2 separate regions of the Homo sapiens genome follow, and region 1 is linked to region 2. The links are contacts of gene promoters, found by promoter capture Hi-C in blood cells and fetal thymus (Javierre and others, 2016). All regions are on one chromosome and are shown on one strand. Each heading gives the region's core, a stretch centred on a gene start or on the middle of the fragment in contact. The rest is flanking DNA. Distances are from core to core; before and after follow the strand shown. Region 1 has its middle 100 kb from the start of RBMS3-AS1. Region 2 holds the start of OSBPL10-AS1 (OSBPL10 antisense RNA 1).

Region 1 (6,383 bases), core at 3,403-5,902, 1.7 Mb after region 2:
GAACATTGTGGTTATAATATGGGTTCCAATTTTCTCCAGAAACAAAAGAATCTGATTATATGTTCACAAGAATCCAGTCTCCATAATGGTCAGTGTCATTTCATTCAATAAATTAGCCTTTTCATTTTGCATCAATTTATTCATTCATTCACATGTTCAAAAATTATTTATTGGTCTTGGCCTACAGAGGACAGCCAAAAAATTATTTACTGGGAGACATCCAGTTTCTCTCAGGATAATGCTGCTTGAATACAAATGTTTCTACTTTACTTACCAAACCCATACAGAGCATTTAGAAAAGAGAGAGAAAGAGAGAGAGAAAAATTACAATCTATGCCTATAGCATTACAAGGAAAGAAAACATATTACAACCTTCAATTTATGTACAATTACCTGAGAAGCCCATGCCAGGGTGAATAGTCAAACATATTACACAGAAAAGAAGTAGATGCAACTGGGAAAAACTAACATCATCATCATCATCATCTCTGTCTCTTTCTCTCTCTGTCTCTGTAATCACTCTGGAGAAGCCAGCTGCCATGTTCTGAGGACACTCAAGCAACCCTATGAAGAAGCCTACATGAAGAGGAACTGAGATCTCCAGCTAACATCCAGAGAACAGAGGTCTCCTGCCAACAGCTTGGAAGAGAATCCCTCAGCCATAGTCAACCCTTTAAGTGACTGCAGCCCTGGCTGACATCTCATTGCCACCTCATGAGAGGCCCTGAGCCAAAATCTCCCCCTTAAACTGCTTTCCAAGTTCCTTTCCCACAGGAACTGTGGTATAATAATTGTTTCTTGCTTTAAGGCACCCGATTCAGGATGATCTATTATACAGCAATAGATGGTAACTAATGTAGGGCGGGTCAAATGGAAAGGATTTGGATGTGCCTACGACCACAAGTATTAGTCTTGCAAGAGTAATGCTTTCTGGAAGAGATGAGCTATCTTAATAGGGAAAGTCTTCCCTTGGAGGCTTGGCAGTGAAGGGAAAGAACAAAGCAAGTTTATAAATTAAGGGTCTAAAAGAAACATGAAAATTACAGAATCGAAACACACAGCCCTCTTCTATTTCACAAACACTACATTTAACAACCTGCGTTTCACTGTGCCAACCAAAAAGTACATTCTTGAACTAAGAAACCTGATAAACCACCTAAATCCCAGACTCCCAACACAGAAACTCATGCTATTATTCACCCAGGAAAATTTAGGACATTTAAAAACAAACAGAAAATGGCAAGCAATAACAATATAAAGCTACTGTAAGAAGAAAACAGAATATGAACATCAAAACTCCTCAGCTAATTAAAATTATGTCACCTGCATGTGAAATCATAAAATGGAAAACTTGTAAAACAGTACTCTGATATAAATTAAATATCTTTAAACGAACACTTGTAAATATGAAAGACCTTAAATTAGACAAAAATTCAGACTAGAAATGGGCCAAAATAGGAAGATGTGATATGAGTGTTGACAAATCCTAGGAAGTAAATTGAAGAAAAATTCAACATTATCTCAGAAATAAAGACTAACATGACAAGGCTGAACACAGTGGTCCACGCCTGTAATCCCAGTAGTTTGGGAGGCCAAGGTGGGTGGATCACTTGAGGTCAGGAGTTCGAGACCAGCCTGGCCAACATGGCAAAACCCCATCTCCACTAAAAATACAAAAAACTAGCCAGGCGTGATGGCGGTTGCCAGTAGTTCCAGCTACTTGGGAGGCTGAGGCACAAGAATTGCTTGAAGGGAGGCAGAGGTTTCAGTGAGCCAAGATCGCGCCACCGCACTCCAGCCTGGGTGACAGAGCCAGACCTTGTCTCCAAAAGGGGAAAAAAAAGACAAAATGACAAGTAACCTAGGTAGTGAAGTATCAACTAAAATAGAAAAGACATTAAGGAGAGGAATGAAGCAGACGAGAAAAAGAAAGAGTGATAAAGTGATACAGAAGATAGGCAGAAGATCCAAGAAAAACAATGAAACAAACTAATGTTTAAAACTAACTATTTAAAACTATAATCAAAGAAAACTTTCCAGAAATAGAAAATCTCAATCTATTTATTGAAAGGGGTCAATATTCCTGGAGAATCAAGGTTGGGACACATCCTAGAGAACAGACTGACAGGCTTTAATGCTATAGAAATAAAAAAATTGGTTATTCCAGAATAAAAAGACCACATTTCTCTCTCTCTCTCTCTTTCTTTCTTTCTTTCTCTCTTTCTTTCTCTCTTTCTCTCTCTTTCTTCCCTTCCCTTCCCTCCCCTCCCCTTCCCTTCCCTTTCTTTCCTTTCTTTTCTTTTCTTTCCCCTCCCTCCCTCCCTCCCTTTTCTTTCTTTTCCTTCCTTCCTTCCTTCCTTCCTTCCTTCCTTCCTTCCTTCCTTCCTTCCTTCCTTCCTTTCTTTTCTTTCTTTCTTTCTCTCTCTCTCTCTGTCCTTCCTTCCTTCCTTCCTTCCTTTCTTCCTTCCTTCCTACTGTGTTACCCAGGCTGGTTTCAAATTTCTGAGCTCTAGTGATCTTCCTGCCCCAGCTCCCAAAGTGCTAGGATTATAAGCAGGAGCCACCACGCTGTGCCAAAAAGACCACATTTCTTATGAAACATAAGATCAGTAGGATCTTGACAGTAATAAGCAAAATAAATAATAGTGGTACAAGAAATTTCAGTAAATTCAAGGAAAAGATATATGACTCACAATTTTACATCCAGCCAAATGTCTTTCAAGTATTGAAACTGTAGGAAAGCAAATTTAAACATTCAAAGACTTGAGGGATATTATACTCCAGACCCTTTCTTGAAGGGTGGACCAAAGGAAGACCTTCATCCAATGGGGATATGGCAAGAAAAACCTGAACAGAAGGAGTAAAGTAAACATTGGCTAGACATTTTTTTAAGATCTAGCAATACAACAAAGCTGAAGACAAGGGAGGAACAAGAGTACATAAGGTTATGTGACCTGATCTAGTAGAAATAAACATAAAAAAGAAGAAAGAGGAAAATTGAATAAATGTATTGGTTGCTGAATAGATAACATGTGGGAGCCAAAGGATAATATTTAAATTTCATAAATCAAATAGTAGAGTACATAAGATGAAAATATAATGATAATGATGATAATAATGATAATACTAATAATAAAGTGTTTATTTCTACCAACTATTAGATAACATCAATAACAGTTTATTGTTTTTGTTATTATCATTACTTTATTTAGCCACATAGTATTTTGAAATAATAATAATTGGGTGCCTTTAAATAGGGCATATACTGTCCAATTCCCACTGGGTCTGCACTCCTATAATGTCACTTATTCACATTCCCTGCCGAGTCCCAGAAGGCATTTTAGTTGAGGCCATGGGGATACTTTATACATAGCGAACAAAATACATGTAGATTTTGATTCAAGAAGCTGACACATCTATCTATATCTGATTAGCATTCATGATCCTGATAAAATTTGAGGCACTGAGAAAGTGAGTTCCTACATATGAAAGCCTGAGGTTTGGAGGAAGGATTTTGAAGAATTTACTAAGATGAACAGAATACTACTTCATTCAGTCAACCTTCCTTGGCAACACCATATATATAGATATCCGTATTTCCAATGGTGCCTTTAAGCTTATTTGATTATGGTGGATTGAGATATAATATTATCTTCATTTATAGAATGAGGTAATTTTATTACTTATCATGAAACCTGGAAAAAAATGTTTTTGTAGTGTGATGCCAAAAGAGAGTAACAAAATCTTCATAAATAATTTTTCTAAACAAGCAATTATAGATGACCTACCTACTATGTAAAGTAGGATGTTGTGAGAAATTCTATATATTCAGATGAGGACACAGCCAATAATTATGCCAAATTCTAAAATAATAGGTTAAATACACATACATCAACTAAAGGATGTGCTCTGATGAGGGGGTAATAATTCTTAACATGTGCTGCAAATAAGTTGAATGAGCTTAGATAATTTATTAAAATAAATCTTGAAGGTCAAGGTACCAGATTCCTGCTGTATCCCTCTTACCTCCATCCCCTCAGCTTCATCTCTGATGTCCACTGTGGCTTTTGCCTAGTTCCATATGAAATTTAACTCATCTTGCTCTCCTAGCAGCTCACTCTTAAGTGTGTATAGCACATCTTTTGCTTTTCGGCTGAGGGTTTCTCTTTTTGGCATACGTAGAAGTACAGAGGAGTTAGTACACCCTAGGGCAACCTTCAGTGGGTACTGGAGTTGATAAATGTTTCTTTTTCGAGATGATCTGGTGGGAAATTCTGAAAGTTGTTTTGGAAGCTCCTCAGAAGGTCTGTTTAGATGAAGTTGCCCATGTTGTTTGCCAACTCAATAGCACACTCCTTTTTTCTCCTTCTTTTACACGTTCTCTGGCCCTGTTTCTAGGAATCAACTCCAAATATAACTACCTGCACACCAGACCTTGTTACTAGGTTTTAGGAGATTCAGGTGAGGCCAGTCATCTAGCAAAATGTAAAGAGTCTAGCGATTATGGAAACCAGTATTAAAACTTCTCAAAAAAACAAAATAGAATTACCATATGATCCAGCAATCTCACTGTTGGGTATATATCCAAAAGAAAGGAAATTGTATATTGAAGAGAGATCTGCATTCTCATGTTTATTGCAGCACAATTCACAATAGCCAACATATGGAATCAACCTAAGTGTCCATCAACAAATGAACAAATAAAGAAAATGTGTCATATATACACAACAAAATATTATTCAGCCATAAAAAGAATTGAATCTTGTCATTCTCAGCAACATAGATAGAACTAGAGGTCATTAAGTTTAATAAGCCAGGTATACAAAGACAGATATCTCATATTCTCCCTCAGGTGTGGGGCCTAAAAAAGTGGATCTCATGGACATAGAAAGTAGAACGGTGGTTACCAGAGGCTGGAAAGGGAAGGGAGAAGGGAGGAGAAAGACAAGTTAGTGAATGGGGATGAAAATACTATTAGACAGAAGGAATAAGTTCTAGTATTTGATAGTAAAGTAGGAAAATTATAGTTAACCATAATTTGTTATATATTTCAAAATAGCTAGAAGGAATGTAATGTTCCCACATAAAGATAAATGTTTGCAGTGATGGATATCCCAGTTACCTTGATTAGATCATTACATACATGATTATTGTATATACGCATGAAAATATCACATGTACCCCCAAAATATGTACAACTACTATATATCAACTGAAAAAAAATATTTTTAGGTCCCATCCTCCCTCATAAGTGGGAGAGAAGAACTTCCTTTGCTTTGTTGATAATTCTATCCCAAATGCCTTAGGCTACTTCTTGATGCATTCTTAATGATCTACCTGTAATAAGCAGCCTTGGGTCTCTGATTCTCAACATGTGCAATTCTCCCTTTTGAGTACAGTGATTCTTACATGAGCATGCATTACAAAATTATTTGTGGAGCTTTATGAAAATTCATCATCCTGGACTTCATCCTAAAACTATAGTGTTAGAATTTCCTAAGGTTCTTCTGATATTCAGCCATGATTTATAATCATTGGTCTAGAGAGCCCAATCTACTCTTTGTCCACCACCATCATTTATCCATTTAATTATAATTTATTAACCTTCAACTATGTATCAGGCACTGTGCTAGGAACTGGGGATAAGATAATAACTAGAACTAGGTCCATTTGGGCATCCTAAGCTTATCTTGGTGTATAGCCATGCCACCCTGAATGCACCTGATCTCGTCTGAACTTATCTTGGATGTCACTGCCTCTATAAACCCTTTACCAGACACTTTTACTACCATGAGCTTTAACTTTCCATTCCCTCTGCCCATAATTAGAGGTCTCATTCTTAATTCTTCTCCAATAACTATGATTCACCTTGCTACAAAATTTGCTGCATTGCTCTGAAATGATTTACAATTCTGTTTATTCCACTCTGAGCTCTCCAAGTAGAGCAATTGTATTCATTATTATGACATTTTTGGTAATGTTAAAAGGAAAAAAGGGAGGGATAGAGAAAAAGAAGGAAGGGAAATAGTAAGGAAAGCACATTTACTATTGTGAATGTCCATGACATCATCCTTAAACTTGGCCCTTTGCAGAATGCTTTAATTCAGATAGAAAGTAAACAAAAATAAATATTATGTGTTTGCAAGTTGGGCTCTCTCATATTTAATTCTCTCAACAGTCTTGTCTTAGACATATTATCATTTCCATTTTGAAGATAAGTAACCAGATATTCTAAAAGATAAAGTGTCTTCCTCAAGGTGTCACTTATTTCTTAGTAAATGGAGGATCTGGGGTTTGAACCCAAAGCTCCCAGTGAGAAAAAGGCCCAGAGTTTTTACTGGCCTTGCATATATAGACTGCTGCAGTGTATGAGTATGTCTGTT
Region 2 (6,075 bases), core at 2,549-5,048:
CTGTAAAATCACTGTGTTTCTTGATTTATCCCCTTTGTCTTCTACTTGCCTACTCTTCCAATCTCTCCAGTCCCTAGCCTCTATCTATGTCTCAACTCCACACTCTTTATTTTTCTAGAACCTCTCATTTGTTGGGAAACCAGCCTCTGTTGACTCTTTTCCCCTAGAAAACATAAGTACACTTGCCCTGGTGGCCATTAGTGCATGTTATTGCCTGTTCTGTGTAGTTATGGAATTGAGAAATAATTTGTCTATGAGGGGACATCATTCCCTGGTTACTTCTTTGCCATGCTGCTGTGTACCTGACAGTTCTCTTTTCTGAGGATATCTGAGCATGGTGCTTTGGGTCTTCTCACCTACTGCCTGCATTTCTGTGACCCTCAGACTACCCATTTTTTTTGACATGGCTAGATTTCCCCAAAAAGATCATATCTAGATGTGTATGGTCTTGTCACTCAGTGCCAAGGTTTTTTGGTATGGCTCAGTTCACCCCAGTGCCTCCTTGCCAAGTTAACAGTGTGTGGGGAAAGTTGCCAGGCTTTAAAAATGATTGAACTGCAATATGCTTGCTGCTAAAAGAGAATTTGATGTTCATTCTCTAGCTGGCTTTATTGTCTGTCCTTGCCATATAGGTTTTCAGGAAAGTTGCAGGTCACTTGAGTTCAGTGGGTGCTGTTTTTCTGTTGAGATATTGTCTGTTTATTGGATACTTATTTACTTGGGCATAAGATGGCTTTAGGAGGTCGTCTTAATCCGTGCTAGAGTAGACCCTCTTGCCCCTGCATGTCTGTGATTCCTGGTTTGGCACAGAAAAGCTCCCTGTCCAAAGGCAAAATGCATCTTTAATGGTTAGGTAATGGAACCACGCAGGCTTCTGCCATGATATCTCAAATCTAACCAGTGAGGATTCAGTCCTCTGAATTAAGATATTAGGTTATAAGGCCATGTACAAATAAAGGAGATGTTAGTAGATCAAACTGCTTGTGTTGACCCCAGCTACCTGAAGGCCAGGTCTAGGTTAAGAGAGAAGGCAGTTCACTAAAGCAGGAAGGGTGGGGTGGGGTGGGAGTCATCTGTCTGAGGAGGGGAAAGCAGGAGTGAAGTGCCAGGAAAGAGAGTACCTTTGGGGACATGGGTGGAGTGAACGAAGCCTGTGACAGGGAAATGAGTGGACTCTGCAGACAAATGTCTATTTCATGCTTTTTCCTGGGAGGGACACAAACTGTAGTTACATTACATATATGTATTGAATAAAAAGATTGGCATTTCAGTCATGCTTGAAATCTGCATTTGTATTGAAGAATTAAGATATTTGTTTAAGAGATGAAAGCAAAGCTAAATGTTTCTCCCACATTGATGTTCCCATTGAGAAGACTGTTGGACCCACACAAACCTAACACACGTCACAGTTTTGCCTCCTGGCTTTGGCCTCGGTGGCATAGCCCCATATATCTCCTTCTCCTTACTAGATAAGAAGCAGAGGCCCATGGTTAAGGGCAGAGTCACATCTGTAGATGCTGTGACTGTCTTGGATTGGACCATTCCCAGCCCAAGACCCCATCTCTCACATGGTCTCAGCCTTTGGTCCTCAAGAGGCTGGAGGTCAGCGAAGGGGCAGAGACCCTTCTAAGAATCCAAGGGGAGCTATGGACCCCCTCTTCAGAAAAATGCCCAGACTTACAATTTTTGCATAAAATTTCAAGGATGGGGGTGGATATCTTAAGGGCTGTCCATGTGACCCAGGCCAAGAACCCTTGCTCCGGGCACAGGTCACTGTGGGTCACCAGGGAATGTCCCTAAACCCCAGCCTGCCCGTGAAGCTTTTTCCTGCCCATTGATTTTTCGCTTATCGTTCTCCCCATTTGCTAATAGGCACAGTTGCTTGATTTTTGTAGCACCATATGCCCTGAGGTGCTTGTGTGGTAGAAATATTGTCGTAATTTCTGTTTTTATTAAAATCCTCATTTTTCCAAAGCCTGCTTCTCTTTAAAACATATTTTAATTCCATTTTATCTTCAAGTTTGCATACATTTTTGTGGCTGGGCTGGCTCATTTGCAAAAATCTCTGGGGGATGGGGGATCTGAAGATTCTTCTGCTTAAGTCTTATAAATTCTCTCAGCAGTATGAAACCGTTTCTCACATTCATATTTTTCAGAGATGGGGGAACACTGTTCTGCCATTTTTGATGACCTTGAGAGAGTTGTTACTGTTTTATAAGTGAAAATTCGCAGAGATTCAGAGAGGGGAGGCGTGCAGGGGCTCCCAGGAGACAAGTAGGACTTTGTGAGAGAAGGGGAGTGTGGATGTGGATAAGCACGGGGACCTGATTATGGAAAACAGCACTTAGAAAGGATGATAATTATCCATCTCTTTGAATTCCACATCAGAGTAGCGGAATCAACAAACCCTTGACCCTGAAAGGGAAGGAGGTTTTGTGTCTTTAAAACTCCATCAAGACCTGCTTCTTCAAACCCTCCATTCCTTGCAGTGCCTGTCTATGTGGGTGCTTTGTGGTTGCCAGTAGATTGGTATTTACATTGCCATGGACCTCTTTCAGACAGAGTTGACCTGCTGACTACTGCTGCCTTTCCATCTATGTACCCCCAAGTTGGACCGCGATGGGGGTGGGGGGGGGGGTCTTCTCTTTGTGCAGATGGACTGAGCTGCAGTGTGGGTGGATTGAAAGTGTCCTCTAAGATGTTTACTGTCAACATGGTGTATGAAACCAGCTTAACTCTGATATTTACTTGAGGCTGGGTAGGAGAATTGTTTACAAATCACATTGGGAGAGAAAGGGCAAGTTCTCAGAGGCTGTGGGAGAGAAAACAGTCCTAGGTCCTTGTTTAAGGTTAGGGCATGGCTTGCTCAGGATTTGTGCCACCAAGGGGCAGTGTGCCAGGCTCCCATGGCCGTCCTTCTGTGGGCGGGACTTCAGGGCCACCAGTCATCCCGGATGACTCAGCTTCTGGGGCACCTGCACCAGCCTTAATTTCCTCTGCTGGAGCCACTGTCTTTGAGAGGAATTGTCAGACACAGAGGGCATGTGCTGTTGATTTACAGTGGGAAAGGATGGAGGGGTTTGTTTTCACATTTATGTGTGTACTCCGTATCATGCGGCTGGATCTTGTGGAAGACTTTCTGGCTACTAGAAGTCAGGGACAAGCTGGGTCTAATTTTCGAGTAAGGCAGACAGCTGGAGGAGGTGTGGTCCCCGAAGGTCTATAAACACATCACAGTGAGTGTAGCAGTGAGTGGGAAAGATGAGGATTTCCCCTGCAATGGCTTGTGAGCAAATAGGAAATCACAGCTTTAGAAGAATGAATCATTCTTTGCTTCATGAAGCTTATGGCAGCCTCAGTGGAGCAATTGATTTAGTATGCAGTCCATTCTTGGTGAGAACAGCTAATTTCAAGCAGAAAATAATTGCCCGCAAAATGGAGCTACTTCTCCTGTTGAGATGTTTAAGGACTTTGCAGCCCACTCCACCTGTTGGGTACACCATGGTGGTTGGATTTCACTTGGTTTTGATTGTCCTTTTTCTTCCCAAAGCAGAATGCCCAGGCACTACCCTCTCCTCCCCCAGCTGGTGCTGGCATGAGAGGAATTCTGCTAATACAGATTACTGCCCACCGGGTCACTGCAGAGGAAGTTGCAGCTATAGCACCTTTGCCATTGGGAGGGATTTGTGTCTGAGCTCTCTGACTTCCGTAGCGTAGACTGGAAATGGAAGCTCACAGGGAGCTGAGACAGCCACCCACTTTCAAACTGACCTGAAATCCAGAAGAGGCAAAAGGGAGGAGAGCCAGGAGGACAGGCCAGTAGAAGGGAGGCCCTGCTAATCTCAGCATTAGCCATTCAGACTCATGGCAGCGGTGGCCTTGGCACCAGGAGCAGTCACGCAGCAGCACGGGGTGTCATGAGGTGGAGCTGGAGGAGACCCCCAGGGCCACTGGCTGTAAGTGCTGGGCTCCTGTGTGCTTCTACCCCTAACTTCCCAGTGTAGAATCAGGGTAGCTCACAGCTCAGAGACTTCCCTCTCTGGCTCTTCCTCTCAGGGTTAGCATAGGTAAGGATTCCTCAATTATTTCAGCATAATCTAGCAAAGCAACTTGCCAATGACGTCAGATAATACCCATTATGAGGTGGCTAGAGAACTGGGCACATAATAAAAGAAAACTCAGCTTTTGGCTGGGGGAATATCCTGTGGGCTTCACTGAGATCTTCCCAACCATCTCTTTAGAATTGGGGTTATTTAGAGCTGATTGAGAACACCTTAGGAGTATGTCTGTGGAAAACGTCTATTTACGTTGAAGTTTTAAAAATGCCTACCCCAGGAGGGAAGGAACACCGTTATTACCTCTCTTTGGAATGTTGGAAAGGAATGGTCCGTGTGGGTATGTAAGGCCAGACAATTTTAAACACCTTGACCACTAAAATAACCTTTGTATGTTAGAAGTGCCTGTAGATATAAGATGATTCTGTCTAATGAGGTTAGTAAATTGTTCGTTTTTTGCATGGACATTTGGACAAGTCTGTATCCTTTCATGTTTAACATCTTTGAGCTTCTGAATTTCTGTATATTATGTCTGACCTGTTATTGATAATTGGAAAGAAATGTATAATGTTCTGTGCAGAGTGCTTTTGCTTATATGTAAGCAAGCATCATAAGAACATAGGTAAATGTGGAGTGTGGAATGTGGATACTTCTTTCAATAGAATTCTGAGGGCAAGTTAACCTTGTAACCAGAGTCCTTAATACTTGGATACTGGAAAATTTTATGTGCAATAATCCCCTTGCCCAGTTTATTAAGTTGCCTGTTTTCTATGTAATGTGAAAAATTGGAATTGAGTGATTGAATTAATAAACTTGCATCGAGGAAAGCAGGGTATGTTGGCCAGTGTGAATCCCAGTAGTATCATAAAGTTTCAGTTTTGCCTTAAATTTTCATTTGTTGTCTTCCTCCCTAAATTAATGCCAATTCTCAGCATTTTCTTATACCTGCTAGAGTGATCCTAATTGATTTGGGTAGAAATAGTCTTAGAGCACGTTTTTCCATAAATAATTTTAGTCCCTGGATAATCCAACTTTTACTTATAAACAGAAAAATTTATATTAGATATGAAGTGGCCTGGATTGTGCAAGTTAACAGGAGTCTAACTTTGGTAAACTCCTACTTGCTAATAGGCAAAATGAAGGGGGCTCATACCCATATACTATAGTTAGTTTCTTAAAGAACAGGGAGCTGTTTTGTCAGGGGAAGTCCTTACACTCACTAATCAGGGATGACGGGAGAGATGAAAGGGGATATGCAGTGTCCAAGGCACAGGTCCGACCCCCAGGGGACTTGTCTGCCCCGTGGCCAATAGGACTGGGTCACAGAGGAGCTCTGCCCGGGACAGGATTGGGTTTCTTCTGTCATTGCAAAGCATGTGAATTCATACACTTTATTTCTAACTTCTATTGGGCCAGCTGGTGATTTTTATTGATTATTTCATTTTAGCCAAACTCAGGCTCTGAATTGGTTTTGTCTGAAGATGAAAAAAGTGACAATGAAGATAAGGAAGAGACGGAATTGGGCGTCATGGAGGATCAGCGTAGTATAATTCTTCATCTCATTTCACAACTCAAACTTGGAATGGATTTGACCAAGGTAGGTTGGCATGTCCCCTGGATTTGTGGTCAGTTGTTGGGGTTCTGTCTCTATCCTCAAGCCTTCTCTATGCACATTCTTTTCGTTGTGGTGAGATTGGAGAAGAAGAGTGGGGAAAAAGGCCAGCATTGCTTTCAAGTATGGATATTCCAGGTATAATTTGAAAGGACATTTGTACATAAATGGTTATCCTCAGGGCTGGACAGCCCTGCATTTGATCTTGGGAGGAGTTGTTGCTACTCTACAAGGGCAGGGAGAACATCAGAAAAAGCATATGAGATGGTATGGAAAATTCAAGGTACTATTTCTTTGTTTCTTGCTATGTTCTAGAGATAACTGTAGGTGGCCTATAGAGATGGCTATGCACAGTGGCCATAGAGGGAAAAGATGGGGAAGGGAAATGGTGGCACCAGGAATGACGCC

Evidence for each region. The method cuts DNA at HindIII sites, captures the fragments that hold promoters and counts their contacts. A CHiCAGO score of 5 or more calls a contact.
Region 1: a contact is called between a fragment that was not itself captured here and the fragment with the promoter of OSBPL10-AS1 in region 2, in 1 of 17 cell types (non-activated CD4 T cells). The highest score is 5.1, in non-activated CD4 T cells.

Annotation. Positions count from the first base shown.
Region 1 is chr3:30,030,607-30,036,989 of GRCh38, reverse strand. No RefSeq gene overlaps it. Among named protein-coding and RNA genes, the nearest start is that of RBMS3-AS1, 100 kb to the right of the region's middle. The HindIII fragment of the contact is 2,068 bases long and covers 3,619-5,686 here.
Region 2 is chr3:31,701,936-31,708,010 of GRCh38, reverse strand. OSBPL10-AS1 (OSBPL10 antisense RNA 1) reads right to left here and starts at 3,798. Exons shown (of 5, transcript NR_049771.1): 1 at 3,772-3,798. It overlaps OSBPL10 (oxysterol binding protein like 10), which reads left to right. Exons shown (of 12, transcript NM_017784.5): 7 at 5,503-5,652. It overlaps LOC124909360 (a long non-coding RNA gene), which reads left to right and starts at 5,661. Exons shown (of 2, transcript XR_007095858.1): 1 at 5,661-6,075. The HindIII fragment of the contact is 3,023 bases long and covers 3,346-6,075 here.